4 separate regions of the Homo sapiens genome follow, and all the other regions are linked to region 1. The links are contacts of gene promoters, found by promoter capture Hi-C in blood cells and fetal thymus (Javierre and others, 2016). All regions are on one chromosome and are shown on one strand. The core of a region is centred on a gene start or on the middle of the fragment in contact, and the rest is flanking DNA. Distances in the headings are between cores, read along the strand shown. Region 1 holds the start of CES3 (carboxylesterase 3). Region 2 holds the start of HSD11B2 (hydroxysteroid 11-beta dehydrogenase 2). Region 3 holds the start of KCTD19 (potassium channel tetramerization domain containing 19). Region 4 holds the start of FHOD1 (formin homology 2 domain containing 1).

What was found. The method cuts DNA at HindIII sites, captures the fragments that hold promoters and counts their contacts. A CHiCAGO score of 5 or more calls a contact.
Region 2: the fragment with the promoter of HSD11B2 here is called in contact with the fragment with the promoter of CES3 in region 1 in 5 of 17 cell types (naive CD4 T cells, total CD8 T cells, erythroblasts and 2 more); the score reaches 6.6 in naive CD4 T cells.
Region 3: a contact is called between the fragment with the promoter of KCTD19 here and the fragment with the promoter of CES3 in region 1, in 4 of 17 cell types (activated CD4 T cells, naive B cells, M1 macrophages and 1 more). The highest score is 6.6, in activated CD4 T cells.
Region 4: a contact is called between the fragment with the promoter of FHOD1 here and the fragment with the promoter of CES3 in region 1, in 2 of 17 cell types (activated CD4 T cells and total CD4 T cells). The highest score is 5.2, in activated CD4 T cells.

What each region holds. Positions count from the first base shown.
Region 1 is chr16:66,959,688-66,962,979 of GRCh38, reverse strand. CES3 (carboxylesterase 3) reads right to left here and starts at 1,714. Exons shown (of 13, transcript NM_024922.6): 1 at 1,591-1,714. The coding sequence starts at 1,672. RefSeq lists enhancers at 1,523-1,732, 1,517-2,018, 1,823-2,072. The HindIII fragment of the contact is 21,813 bases long and covers 1,701-3,292 here.
Region 2 is chr16:67,429,363-67,432,654 of GRCh38, reverse strand. It overlaps HSD11B2 (hydroxysteroid 11-beta dehydrogenase 2), which reads right to left and starts at 1,534. Exons shown (of 5, transcript NM_000196.4): 1 at 1,142-1,534. The coding sequence starts at 1,406. RefSeq lists silencers at 1,416-1,595, 1,816-1,865. The HindIII fragment of the contact is 16,145 bases long and covers 1-3,292 here.
Region 3 is chr16:67,325,128-67,328,419 of GRCh38, reverse strand. KCTD19 (potassium channel tetramerization domain containing 19) reads left to right here and starts at 1,679. Exons shown (of 16, transcript NM_001100915.3): 1 at 1,679-1,715. The coding sequence starts at 1,713. It overlaps LRRC36 (leucine rich repeat containing 36), which reads right to left and starts at 1,605. Exons shown (of 14, transcript NM_018296.6): 1 at 1,488-1,605. The coding sequence starts at 1,557. RefSeq lists a silencer at 1,563-1,712. The HindIII fragment of the contact is 1,968 bases long and covers 707-2,674 here.
Region 4 is chr16:67,245,683-67,248,974 of GRCh38, reverse strand. It overlaps FHOD1 (formin homology 2 domain containing 1), which reads left to right and starts at 1,494. Exons shown (of 22, transcript NM_013241.3): 1 at 1,494-1,765. The coding sequence starts at 1,565. RefSeq lists silencers at 1-44, 345-434, 455-544, 1,187-1,556, 2,457-2,556 and enhancers at 1-259, 2,660-3,292. The HindIII fragment of the contact is 13,502 bases long and covers 1-3,292 here.

The sequences.
Region 1 (3,292 bases), core at 465-2,964:
CAGGCCAGACCGGGCCTGCCACTAGGGCCTTGTGCCTTGGGGCCAGCCACTTGCCCATTTCTTTGTTTTTATTTTTTGTGTTTGAGACAGGGTCTAGCTCTGTTGACCAAGCTGGAGTGCAGTGGCACGATCTTGGCTCACTGCAACCTCTGACTCCCGAGTTCAAGCGACTCCAGGGCCTCAGCCTCCCAAGTAGCTGGGATTACAGGTGTGCACCACAACGCCTGGCTAATTTTTGTATTTTTAGTAGAGACGGGGTTTCATCATGTTGGCCAGGCTGGTCTCGAACTCCTGACCTCAAGTAATCCATCCACCTGGGGCTCCCAAAGTGCTGGCATTACAGGCATGAGCCATCATGCCCAGCCCTGAATTATTTTTTAAAAAGTAGAGATGGGGTCTCATTATGTTGCCCAGGCTGGTCTCAAACCCCTGGGCTCAAGCAATCCTTTCACCTCAGCCTCCCCAAGTGCTGGGACGACAGGTGTGAGCCATCATGCCCAGCTGGCACCATGTTTCTTGTACGGCCTGCAGAACTGTGGCCTAACTAAACTTCTTTTCTTTGTGAATTACCCAGCTTCCTGTATTCTTTTACAACAACACAAACAGACTAAGACTGGAGGACTGCCTCTCCCAGGCTAGACAATTCCTAGAGATAGGAGGCAGCTCTCTGGGGAGGTGGAATTGGCAGGCATCTCTCTAGGGAGCAAAGGCAAACCAGTCCAGAGCCATACCCAACCACCTCCTTTATACAGCTCTCAGCTCCTGGCTGCCATCCACCAGCCATAATCACCACAGAGCCGGGTACCAGGAAGCTGGCTGGGGACAGCCCCTTTCCCCAGAGCCTGCTGCCAATCGTAAACCTCTTTAGCCTGCCTTGCCTATTCCTTCCCGTGGCAACCGTGTCAAAGGGGCTTGCCCACATTTTCCCCCTGCTCCCTCTGCCTCCTGGCTGATGCCACCTGGTGCTTCCCTCTGTGGCCCTATGTGGCATGGCCTGCTTCCTGTTCACAGGGAACTACGAGCAAACTCCTTCCCTCATGATAGTCATTTGCATATCTGCTTGTCTTACTATACTTCATTAAAACAAATCTCAGGCCCCCTTAAGACATAAAGACAGGCCAGGTGCGGTGGCTCACGCCTGTAATCCCAGCACTTTGGGAGGCCGAGGCAGGTGGGTCACCTGAGGTCAGGAGTTTGAGACCAGCCTGGCCCACATGGTGAAACCCCATCTCTCCTAAAAATACAAAAATTAGCCGGCCATGGTGGCAGGTGCCTGTAATCCCAGCTACTCAGGAGGCTGAGGCAGGAGAATCGCTTGAATCCAGGAGGCGGAGGTTGCAGTGAGCCGAGATCGCGCCATTGCACTCCAGCCTGGGTAACAAGAGCAAAACTCTGTCTCAAACAACAACAACAAAAACAACGAAACAAATACAGCAAGAGCAGAGCGCCTGCCCAGAGAGAATGCACAACCCCTGGTCTGCCTCCAAACAGGACTGTTTCCTGAGCGGTCGGCCCACTGCTCCCTGTCCCTGTCTCACTCTTGACTCCTCCACACCAAGTACCTCTGCAGGCCCAGCAGGTGTGTCTTACCAGTGGCTGTGGCAGGGCATGCCAGGAGCAGACAGACCACCCCGACCAGGACCCCGGACTCCACTCTCACTGCTCTCTCCATTCTCCTTACAACTGGTTCGACAGAAGCTTCAGAAGGTGGAATAAGATCCCTGCCCTTCAGCACCACCGATCTCTAAAGGGCTGTGATATAGAACCTCCAAGGACAGCGCCACCTAGCTGGTGGCCAGCCCCATGCTCAGGCTGAGCCAGAGGCAGGGCTAGATGAGTGCCCTGCAGAGGCCTGGTTGATATGACAGCCCTCCCCGTCCCACTGTTTTCAAATTCCAGCTCTCCTGACTTGGTGATCTCCATGAAATCCTGTGCGTTCATCCCAAGGTGACCACATCACTGACCCTAGGAAGTGGTGGCCAGTGACCCTGGGGTGCCACTCCGAGTGGGCAACCCAGCCTGAGGTGAGGGCTTGATATGGTTTGGATGTTTTGTCCCCTCCAAATCTCATGTTAAAATGTGAAAGAAAATAAAACAGTGATGATAATAGGACCCACCTCATAGCATTGAAGTGAGGGTACATGTTTGCATGTGTGTGTGAGTGTGTGTGTGAAAACATGAGGCTTGGGACTGGGTGTGGTGGCTCATACCTGTAATCCCAGTGCTTTAGGAGGATGGGGCAGGAAGATCGCTTGAGCCCAGGAGTTTGAGACCAGCCTGGGCAACACAGGGAGACACGTCTCTAGAAAAAATAAAAAAAATTAGCCAGGTGTGATGGTGCATGCCTGTGGTCCCAGCTACTTGGGAGGCTGAGGTGAGAGGATCACTTGAGCCCAGGTTGTCGAGACTGCAGTGAGCTGTGATAATGCCACTGCACTCTAGGCTAGGCTATAGAGCAAGACAAAGAAAGAGAGAAAGAGAGAGAGAGAAGAAAGAAAGGAGAGAGAGAAAGAAGGAGAGAGAGAAAGGAGAGAGAGAAAGAAAAAGAGACAGAAAAAGAGAAAGAAACAAAAAGAGAAAAAAGAAAAATAGAGAGAGAAAGAAAGAGAGAGAGGGAGGGAGGGAGGGAGGGGAGGGGAGAGGAGGGGAGGGGCTTGGAACCAGAACTCATGGAAGCCTGAGGAGAGGAGAGTCTGGGAACCAGAACTGATGGAAGCCTGCTCTTGACCGGGGCGGGGATCTGCAGGGCATCTGTCTCTCTGCTGGCTTAGGAGGCTCCCACCCCCAGGGAGGGCAGGACTCACTTCTGGGCCTCAGTGTCAGGAACATGGCTGGCTGGGAGTAGGCGGTGGGAGGATGGATAGATATTTGCTGGCCCAGTGAAAGACAGAGTGAGGGTTGTGCCTAAACACGATGCCAGATCCTCTTCCGGGGCTCCAGCTGGCACCCAGAGCTGAAGAGACAGGCTTTAGGATGAAACTTCCCTTCTGCCAAAAATAACTAGTGCCAGCTGGGCATTGTGGCACAAGTCTGTAGTCCCAGCTACTCAGGCGGCTGAGGCAGGAGGATTGCTTCAGCCCAGGAGCTTGAGGCCAGCTTGGGCAACATAGCAAGACTCTCTCTCTAAAAAAAAATTCATAAAAAACCATTGCAGCTTCCTGAATCTTCCCCGGCAGCCTGGGGTGGGGTCTCCTTTTCAGAGCTGCCTCCAGACTTTGTCCTTCCCTATTCCACCTTCCTCTTCTTGTTGCCATCACAGCCCTGCCACCCCCCAGCCACACCCCCTTGATCA
Region 2 (3,292 bases), core at 285-2,784, 470 kb before region 1:
CCACCCCCACACCCAGACTGGCTGTCCCCTACAGAGACCGTGTGTACTCCTGCCTTAAGCCTTTGTCCCACATCCTTTCTCTGATCCGAGATCCCTTTCATACTCCACTTATCTCCACTCATGCTCCAAGGCCCCACTCAAGGATTTCCTCCTCCGGAAAATTCTCCCAGCCCCATCTGATCACACAGGGCCCCTACTAGACCGAGGTCTCTGAGAAGCCAGGTTGCTGGCTGCCCCAGCAAAGGCCCAGCGCAAGGACAAAGCCTGGAGCACCTGTCCAAAGCCGTGGGTATTGGCGAGAGACCAGGCTGCTCCTCCCACGATGCAATGGAGTCAGTGCCCCCTGGCCTTTCTCCCCCTCCCCACTTCCGGCGGGCCTCCAGCCCCCCCCCCCCTTCCCCTTCCCTCCCTCTGGTGACAGATTTATTCCCTGCTCCAGACAAAGGAGCTCAGCTAGGCGGCCAGAGGCACCTGAGCCCAGCTCTCTAAGAGCTCCTTCCTGGGCACAGAGGACCAGGAGGGCTTGGGGGTGGGGTGCTGGGTGTAGGCTCCAAACTACTGCCTCAGCAGTTTGGCAGTGGGTGGCTAGACAGAAAGACAGCTGAATGTCCAGCTGCCCCTCACGGTGACCTCTAGCTTTTCTGAACTCCAAGGATCCCAGCCAGTGGGGGATGGGTGGGGTGGGGAAGTTCCCCATCTAAGCTCTTCCCTCTGGCCCGAGGAATGGGAGATGGGTATCTTAGGTGGGGATGTCAGGCAGAGTTCAAGGGGTAACGATCCTCCCTTCTCAAGGCCTCCGAAGTCCCCTGAGACTGCTCTCTTGGGGAAGGGAATGGCATAAACTCTCAAACTCCAGGAGGTTCCCTCTTCTCAGCCACCAGTCAGTTTCCTTCTCGAACCGGCCCACTCCCTGTCTCACTTTCCCTCCAACACTCCCCGCAGCGGCAGGTAGTGAACCCGGGCTTGGGGAGGTGCCCGGCGCTCCCTATTTGGCTCGCTCCCTGCACCCAGGGGTGGAGAACTCTCCCACTCTTGCGCTGAGGAGCCCGCCTTGGCTGTGCCCATGGGGAGTCAGTCCTGTTGAGTGTCCAGTCCCGCCCTCGAGCCTGGAGTCCCCGCGCTCCGCGACCCGCGCACTCACCGGTGATGAGCACCGCGCGAGTGGCCACCGGCAGGCGCTGCGGGCGCGCCAGGCGGGACAACGCGATCCAGCCGGCGGCGGCCAGCACGGCGAGTGCGGCCGGCGGGGGCAGCAGGCGCTGGCACAGCCAGTCGAGCGCGGCCAGCAGCGCCAGCGCCGCCAGCAGCGGGCGGCCCAGACGCAGGTCTGAGCGCAGCAGCTGCAGCAGCGCGCGGGCAGCCACGAGCAGCCAGGCGCCGCCCGACGGCCAAGGCCAGCGCTCCATGGCGGCCCAGCGGGCTGGGGCGGGGCGGGGCGGGGGCCGGGCCGGGGAGCGGGGAGAGAGAGCTTCTAGGCCGGGGCGCGGAGTGCGGGGGTACACCGGCCTGGGGCGCGAGAGGGACACTCGCTTTCTCTGCTCGCCCTCGGGCCGAGCTTATGAAGAGCCCCGGGGGCGGGGGAGAGGGCGGGGAGCGGGAGGGGCGGGGGCGGGGCTTTCCTTCACTTCTCTCCCGGCACCCCCCGCAGGGCAGGTGCTCCCCCCCCGCCCCGCCCCCTCGACCAGATTCGATTTGGAAAAAGCCGGAACAAAGTCCCAAAGTTGCTGCGCTCGAGGAGCCGCCTGGCTGCGGGCGGTGCTTGGGAGAGGGCCCGTCGGTCCAGCCCGGGTGCCCGGCCTCAGCTCTCCGCCGCGCCCCCACCCACACGCCCGGGGCCGCCAAGCCGCCGCGCTCAGGTGAGCACATGCCACTCACGCTTGTTCGGGACACCTGAGGACACGCACAACCGGCATCCCGGTGCCCTTTGCTGATCGCACCACCGCGGCCGCCAAGCCTGCAGGAACACCGCGAGGAACCAGCCGGTGCTCACCCGGTCTCCGCTGCCGCTGCCGCTGCCGCCCGCGCCCGTACACGCGCCGCACTCCCACGTGGTCGGCTGCGCCAGGTCCCTGGCGCACACACCCTAAGGCGCGCTCACCCCTGAGCAGCTCGCGGCCACAAAACCTGCCTGGGACAGGGGCTGGCGGGGGAACAGGACGACCGCTCCCGGTTCTTGGAGTCTCTGCCCCGTCTTTCCCTTTCCTTCCAGGGCTTAAACCTGGGGACGCACAACCCCACTTCCTGCCTCACAAATGTATGTGTGTGGGGGTCAGTGGAGGGTGGGGTGTCAGAGGAAGCACCTAGGTCTCCCATTACTTATGGCCCACCCCCGCCAACCCCAAGAGCCAGGCCAGAGGGACGTCGGTGAAGGCAGCCTCTAGGACAGGGTGGTCCCTGCCTTGCTCCCCTGAACCCCCAGGGGGTAAAATAAGTGGTATGAGTGTGGGTGGATTTTTCTGCCTGCGTGTGTGAAGGTCTCCATGCTTGTGTGTGGCCCAGTGGCCCCCCACCCTGCCCACCCCCGTGTCTGGCACCCTGTGCCTAGCATCCATGCCAGGGCTCTGCCAGGCACTGGGAGTTGGTGCCAGTACCTGGCTGCAGGCTTGATGCTGAGAGCAGTAGGTGTAGCCCTCGACAGAGGGGTCCCTGCTTCCCGTGGGCTTCCAGGCCGTGCTCAGTGCCTCATCCCTGCCCTCCCAAGATCCTGGGAGGTTGTGGACTCCCTGTCACACTTCCTAGCCCTGTTGCTCATTCTCTCTTAGGTGCCCAGGCTCTGCCAGGGTTTCAGGGCAATGCCTCCTCCAAAGCCCTCTCTGCCACCAGACACAGCCCCCTGGTGAGCCAGGGAAATCTCAGGGGAGGCTGGGAGCCAGACCCACCTAAAGGGAGAGTCTCTGGGTGGAGGACCAATTTGCCCTGAGCCACTCCTGTGCCTCCACCTATCCCTCCTCCTAAGGACAGATGACAGGCAAGCCCCAGACCTGGGAGGCAGGACTTGAATGAGGAGGGTGTGTGTGCCTGACCTTGGGTACATGACCTTGTGTGCCTGTGTTTGTAAGCACTTGTGTCCATGGGACTCTGTGGCTTGTCCAGGCCATTTGGTTGTGTCACTCCCTATGCCATGACCCTGTGTGTGCAAGTGAGTACATTTGTGTGCATTGTGTGTGTTTCTGGTAACTCTCTGTCCTTCGGTCTGGGTCATCCTGCCTCTAGAAACTCAGGGAAACATTCCTTTTCCAAAGTCACTGATTCCTGTTGCGGTGAATGTATGGCCCAGGCTTGGAGGCAGACA
Region 3 (3,292 bases), core at 430-2,929, 370 kb before region 1:
TGCCTCAGCCTCCCGAGTAGCTGGGACTACAGGCGCCCGCCACCATGCTCCGCTAATTTTTTTTGTATTTTTAGTAGAGACGGGGTTTCACTGTGTTAGCCAGGATGGTCTCGATCTCCTGACTCGTGATCCGCCCGCCTCGGCCTCCCAGAGTGCTGGGATTACAGTCGTGAGCCACCGCGCCTGGCCCTCACTGTACAATTATTATATTACCCACAGAATAAATTAATTGAATTATTTTAACAGTCAAAATGAGTAAATATTACATATTTCCCCCCTCTACCAAATTAATCATTAGACTACCGACATGCTCTAGTATATCCTTCCTGTTCTGTTCTTGACTGCACATCATACGCTTCAGCTACCATCTATTTCTGCAGTCTCTTTTACAGCTAAAATTTTCAGCAAAAGTTCTTACTTTCACTGTCTCTTCCCCTCAAATATCATTTCCCTTTTTCATCCCACTCCAATCTGGTTTCCCTCCTCCCCACCCTCCCAAAACTCCCTCTGTCAAGGTCACCAGTAAGTTCCATGTTGCTAAATCTAACAGACACTCTGCATTTAAGTTGCTCAGCCTGTCAATAGCATTTGGCACAGTTGGCCATTGCTTGCTCGATACACTACCCCTTCTCAAATTCCAAGATACCACATTCTTCCTCTATACAACCTCTAAACACTGAAATATTCCAAGGTTGAGTCTTAAGCTTTCTTTCACTTCTCCATCGACATTCTCTCCTTAGCTGAGTTCATCCACTCCCGTAGCTTTAAATACCACCTATTGCTAATGTCTCCAAAATTTTCATCTCTAACCCTGACCTCTCCTCTGAGGTCCAGACCCATATATCCAACTGCCTACTAGGTACCTTACACTTGGATGTCTAATAGACATTTTATTATTTATTTATTTTATTTATTATTATTATTTTTGAGATGGAGTCTCGCTCTGTCGCCCAGGCTGCAGTGCAGTGGTGCGATCTCGGCTAACTGCAACCTCCGCCTCCCGGGTTCAAGCGATTCTCCTGCCTCAGCCTCCCGAGTAGCTGGGATTATAGACTTGAACCACCACGCCGGGCTAATTTTTGTATTTTAGTAGAGACGGGGTTTCACCATGTTGGCCACGCTCAGGTGATCCACCCGCCTCCGCCTCCCAAAGTGCTGGGATTACAGCGGTCAGCCACCGCCCCCCGCAGTTCTGTCACCTGCGGCAGGGTCCCCTGTTAACCTTGTTTCTCCTTCCCTACTTCACACTCCCCTCTTCTCTCTCAATTCCTCGGGCTCTGCCCCACACCCTCCCGTTACTTCAGTTCCTCCACCTCCACCTCCCTCTAACCTTCTGCCTCAAGTTATCCCCCCGCCCCCCAGCCTCAGGTACCGCTTCTCTGTGGTTCCCTCGCCTCTATCTCAGGTTCCCCGCCTTCCACTTCAGTTTTCTTTCCACAGCTTCTGACCCTACGTTCCCAGTCCACACCCTCCCGGCCAGACCCTACCCGGCTGCTCCAGCGTCAGCGCCCCCAGGCGGCGAATGCCTTCCTCGTCCAGCTCCCATTGCTCCGCCATCCCCGCCCGCCGCTCACCTGCCACCGCCCGCGAGACCACCCGGCGCACGCCAGGCCCCGCCCACTGCCCCGCCCCCCGCGCGCGCGCCGCCGCGACCCCGGGAACCGTTATTGGCCGGGTCACAAGCCCGCCCGCCCGCTGCTGGAGCCGCGACCATGGTACGGAGCCCGCTCTGGCGGGGGCGCCAAAAGCACCAAAGCGGCGAATGGGGGCCGCTGTGGCCAAGGATTGGGGCTAAGTGGTTCGAGACCTGGCTCTGGGGCATGGGAGAGAGCGAGGGGCCCCCAGCCGGGAAGGATTTGGGGGGCTGGCTCTGAGGAGTTAGAATAACGCTCTGTCTTGAGGGATGAAGTGTTCTGGCTCTGAGGATGTGGGGGACTCCGGTTCTGAGGGCTGGGCGTGTGCCCCTTTGACGGGGTGGTCTTCATATCTCAGCGCTGGGGGATGCTGACTTTGGGGCAAGGCGAGGGTGTGTGTGAAGGGGAGATCCAAATCTGAAGGATTGGAGCGTGGGGACAGAACTCTAAGGCATGATGGGGAGCTCCAGATCTGAAAGGTTGGGAATCCTGGCTCTGAGGAGTTGGGGTCCTGTCTTTAGAGCATGAGGAAGTTCTAGCTCTAGAAATTGACTTGGACGGGCTGGGCGCGGTGTCTCACGCCTGTAATCCCAGCACTTTGGGAGCCCGAGGTGGGCGGATCACCTGAGGTCAAGAGTTCAAGACCAGCCTGGCCAACATGGTGAAACCCCATCTCTACTAAAAATACAAAAATTAGCCGGGTGTGGTGGCACGGCCTGTAGTCCCAGCTACTCGGGAGGCTGAGGCAGGAGAATCGCTTGAACCCGGGAGGTGGAGGTTGCAGTGAACCGAGATTGCACCACTGCACTCCAGCCTGGGCGACCTGAGTGACAGAGCCAGACCTTGTCTCAAAAAAAAAAAAAAAAAAAAGGTAAGAAATTTACTTGGACGGAGCTTCTTCGGGGGAGAAGGATCAGCGTGGGAAAGAGAGAAGCTCTTTGTAATGGGGTGGGGATGACTGCTTTAGGGCTACCCCGTTTCCTGAAGTCAGTCCGGCAAGAAGCCTTTTGTCTTTCAAGCACCACAGGTTCCCCTAAGCTTGCCTGTGACTGAGGGCTGTCGCCAGGCTGCGATAGCTCTGCACTAACCAGCCCCTGAGTAGTCTTTGGGAAAGAACAGCCGCATCCCTAACCCCTACCCTCACTCCAGCAGGCACTTAAGAGCCCACCTGTGGATGGGACATGTATGTAAGAAGGAGCCAGGACCCTCTTGTCACACCCTATCCTTAACAAGAAAAGAGGGTGGGCTGGGCGTGGTGGCTCACGTCTGTAATCCCAGCACTTTGGGAGGCCGAAGCATGTGGATCACGAGGTCAGGAGATCGAGACCATCCTGGCTAACACAGTGAAACCCCATCTCTACTAAAAATACAAAAATAAAACAAAATAAAATAAAATAAAATAAAATAAAGCCGGGCGTGGTGGCGGGCGCCTGTAGTCCCAGCTACTTGAGGAGGCTGGAGGCTGAGGCAGGAGAATGGCGTAAACCCGGGAGGTGGAGCTTGCAGTGAGCCAAAATCGTGCCACTGCACTCCAGCCTGGGCTAGAGAGCGAGACTCCGTCTCAAAAAAAAAAAAAAAGAAAAAAAGAAAAAAAGAAAAAAAAGAAAGAAAGAAAAGAGGAACTGAGACCAGAACTGGGGCTCACCTTCGAGAAGTAG
Region 4 (3,292 bases), core at 245-2,744, 290 kb before region 1:
GCCGGCCCCGCGTCGCCGCCGCCACCTACCGGGCGCCCCCGCGTCACAGGCACGTGGGGCCCGCTCCCCCCAATCCCGGCTCCGATACCCCCAAGCCAGGTCCAGGCTCCGAGACCCTGCCTCGGACTCTCGTAGTCGGGGACTCTCTCCTCTTTCCTCCCTAAATCAGTCCCAGCTCCGGAAATTCCCCAGTGCAGCTCTCCCCCAAGTTCCACAACCTACTCCTTCGAGTCCGCGCCCCCAAACCTCCCCAAAACCGCCCCCACCAGATCCAGAGCGGTGCGCGGCCACGGCCCCCCTGGGGCAGCCCGCAGCGGGAAGGGCGGGGGTCTGCGGGGGGCGCGGTCAGGACGGGAGGGGCACGGCTCCTCCTCGGCCAGCGCTGCTGTGCGGCGAGCAGCACCCCCCTGGGACCAAGGCGCGGCCGGGTGCAAAACGCAGGGGACCGTGCTTGGCCGCCCTCCGCCCACGTTGCCAAGCCCAGGACCCCCTGCCGGCCCCCACCCGGACCTGAGCTGCGCACGCGCACTGGACGCTCCCCAAAGCAGTGACGGACAACGCTGCCCCCAACGTCCCAGAAACCCTAAGGCCCAGACTGGCCCAGCTCGTGCCAGGCGAAGAGGGAGGCTGTTCTTCATCTCCCAAACCAAGGGGCACCTGGCCCTCCCTTTCAGTCACACTACAGAGAACTGTCTCATCTCTTTGATGAAGCTGACAGGAACCTATGGAAAACCCAGCCTACTGATTCCCTTCAAACTAGGCGAGATGCACCCAACTTTTTCCAAATCTGAGGGGCATTCGGCTCATAGCGCCCCAAACAGAGGAGGACCGTCTCCACTTTTCATTCAGGCTGAGGGGCACCCATCCCACTTTTTCTCCAAAACTGAGGGGAACGTGTTCTATCTGCCCCCTCAAACTGACTCCTCCCAATCTTTTCCCAGAAAACTGAAGGGCATCCTTCCCTCTTCCTCCCACAACTAAAGGGAACTGATCCCACCTCTTCCTTCAAACTGGGTGGAATTTATTCTCACTTCTTGCTCCAAATTGAAGGGACCCCCTCTCACTGCTTTCCCTAAATGAGGAAACCACAGGGACTCACCCCTCAAATGGAAGGAATGAGGGCTATCTTGTCCCTCAACTGAGAGAGACCTGGCCGGCCACTATCTAAAGAAACTTCTGCCCCATCTGCCCTAACACCCCTCAAAGAGAACGCAGCCTCACTATCCCCAGACCAAAGAAAGCCTCCCCGCCTTCTGCGCGTTCTCGAAGGTGGGGCGCGAGCTCGGTTTTTCCCGCCCTCCTAGCCAGTGAACTAACGGGATTCCCATTGGGCCCTGTGAGTGGCTAGCGGCGGCCCCGCCTCCGGCAGTGGTTACCTCCTGGCGCGCACTCGGGGACTAATCTTGGCTCCACCCCCTTCCTCGGCCCCGCCTCCGTCTGGCCCCGCCCCTCCAGCCGCGTCCGGTCCGGCCGGGCCCGAACCGCGGAGCTACAGTGTGCTTTGAGTAGAAGCTGCACTGGGGCCGGGACTCGGAGGCGCGCTGCGTGAGCCGGCCGCAGAGCCATGGCGGGCGGGGAAGACCGCGGGGACGGAGAGCCGGTATCAGTGGTGACCGTGAGGGTGCAGTACCTGGAAGACACCGACCCCTTCGCATGTGCCAACTTTCCGGAGCCGCGCCGGGCCCCCACCTGCAGCCTGGACGGGGCGCTGCCCTTGGGCGCGCAGATACCCGCGGTGCACCGCCTGCTGGGAGCGCCGCTCAAGGTGAGGGAGGCCGGAGAAAGGTTGGGGCGATCGGGGGTTCAGGGTGGGCGCCATGAAAACTGGTGGGAGGTGCTCCGCGGGAAGAGGCTGGAGCGAGTGTTCTTCTCCGGAAAAGTCTTGGGCTGGGGTCCCAGGGTCCACTCTGCCCCGCCTGCGGGGGAGTCCCCTCTCAAGTTGAGGGGAAACTGAAGAGGGGTGCCAGGAACTTGGCTCCGCCATTCTGACTGCCCTTCGAATTAGGCGCACCTGGGGAGGTGCTCGAGTTCCACTCGCCGTCGGTCTGCCAGGGTGGCTTCCCTGGTCAGAGTGACGGTAGCCGCTTGGGCTGTAGCGGACCCTGGAGGCGGAGCTGGGGAGGGACCAGCTTCCACCTGCTTCAGGTGAGGTGGGGGCGGGACCACGAGGAGGGGCGGGCCCGAGGCGGACTACTAGAGGTGGCAGAGGTTTCCTGCGGTGTCAGGAAGCTGGATTGGGGCTTGACCCTGTAGGTCAATGGGAGTATGGGAGTGCCGGCCGAGGAGAGACTTCACGGGGTGAGGGGAGTCCCCGCGAAGCGGTCTGGCCCGGGATCCGCAGAGCGCAGGAGGCTGCACGGGTGTAAAAGCCCTTTGAGTCACCGCTCCCGCCCCCACCCCCGGACACTCGCCGCCCATCGGCCCGCGCCTGAAAGTGAGAGGGAGGGCCGGACTAATTTTAAACAGCCGGCCTGCCCTACTTTGCTGCCGCCCCGAAGCGGACTTGTGCACAGTGCGGAAAGAGGCCCTTTTCCAGATGGCCAGCCTACCTCCTCTCCCCTCCCTCTCGCCGCCGTCAGCCCCCCGCAGGCAGCCCTTTCCGGCGCGCTGTTTCCGGGCCAGGACTCTGGGAGGCGCACTACCACCTCCACAAGCTCCCCACCAGCCCGGCCGCCTCCAGTGCTGGAGAAGAGGAGAGAGAGTCGGGGTGGGTGCCCTCCCCTGCTCCCAGCCTCAGCTGGGCGGCGAGTTGCGTAAACTTGCCCCTTGGGCCTGGGGTCTTCCCTGGAATGTGCCCCGGGCCCCCAGCCCGCATTCCTCGCGCTGCGGCCAGCCCCGCCTCTGAGCGCTGGCGGGAGGGGTGGTGAGACTATTGGCCTGGAGAGTGGCACGTGTCCAGGCCAGAACCCCGGCTTCAAGGCCATGGCTGGAAGGATGCAGGACACTGCTCACCGCCAGTTTTGACTCAGCCCCCGCTTCTCTTGCCCTATTCAGAGGGGCAAATTGAGGTGTGCCTGGAAGAAGCGTGTGCAGCTGGAGGCCACCTCCCATTCAGGATGGGGGCTGGGAAGACAGGAGTGCTGAACTAAGACTGGTTCCCGCTTCCAGGCTCCTAAAGTCCGGATCCTGAAATAAGGGTGGGGCACTAGAGAATATATTGTATTCCTCTCATCCTGCAACTCAAGGATTGGACCTAGCCCTGACACCACCCCCCCGATTTTTTTTTTTTTAAGACGGATTCTGGCTCTGTCTCCCAGGCTGGAGTACAGTGGGGCTATCTTGGCTCACTGCA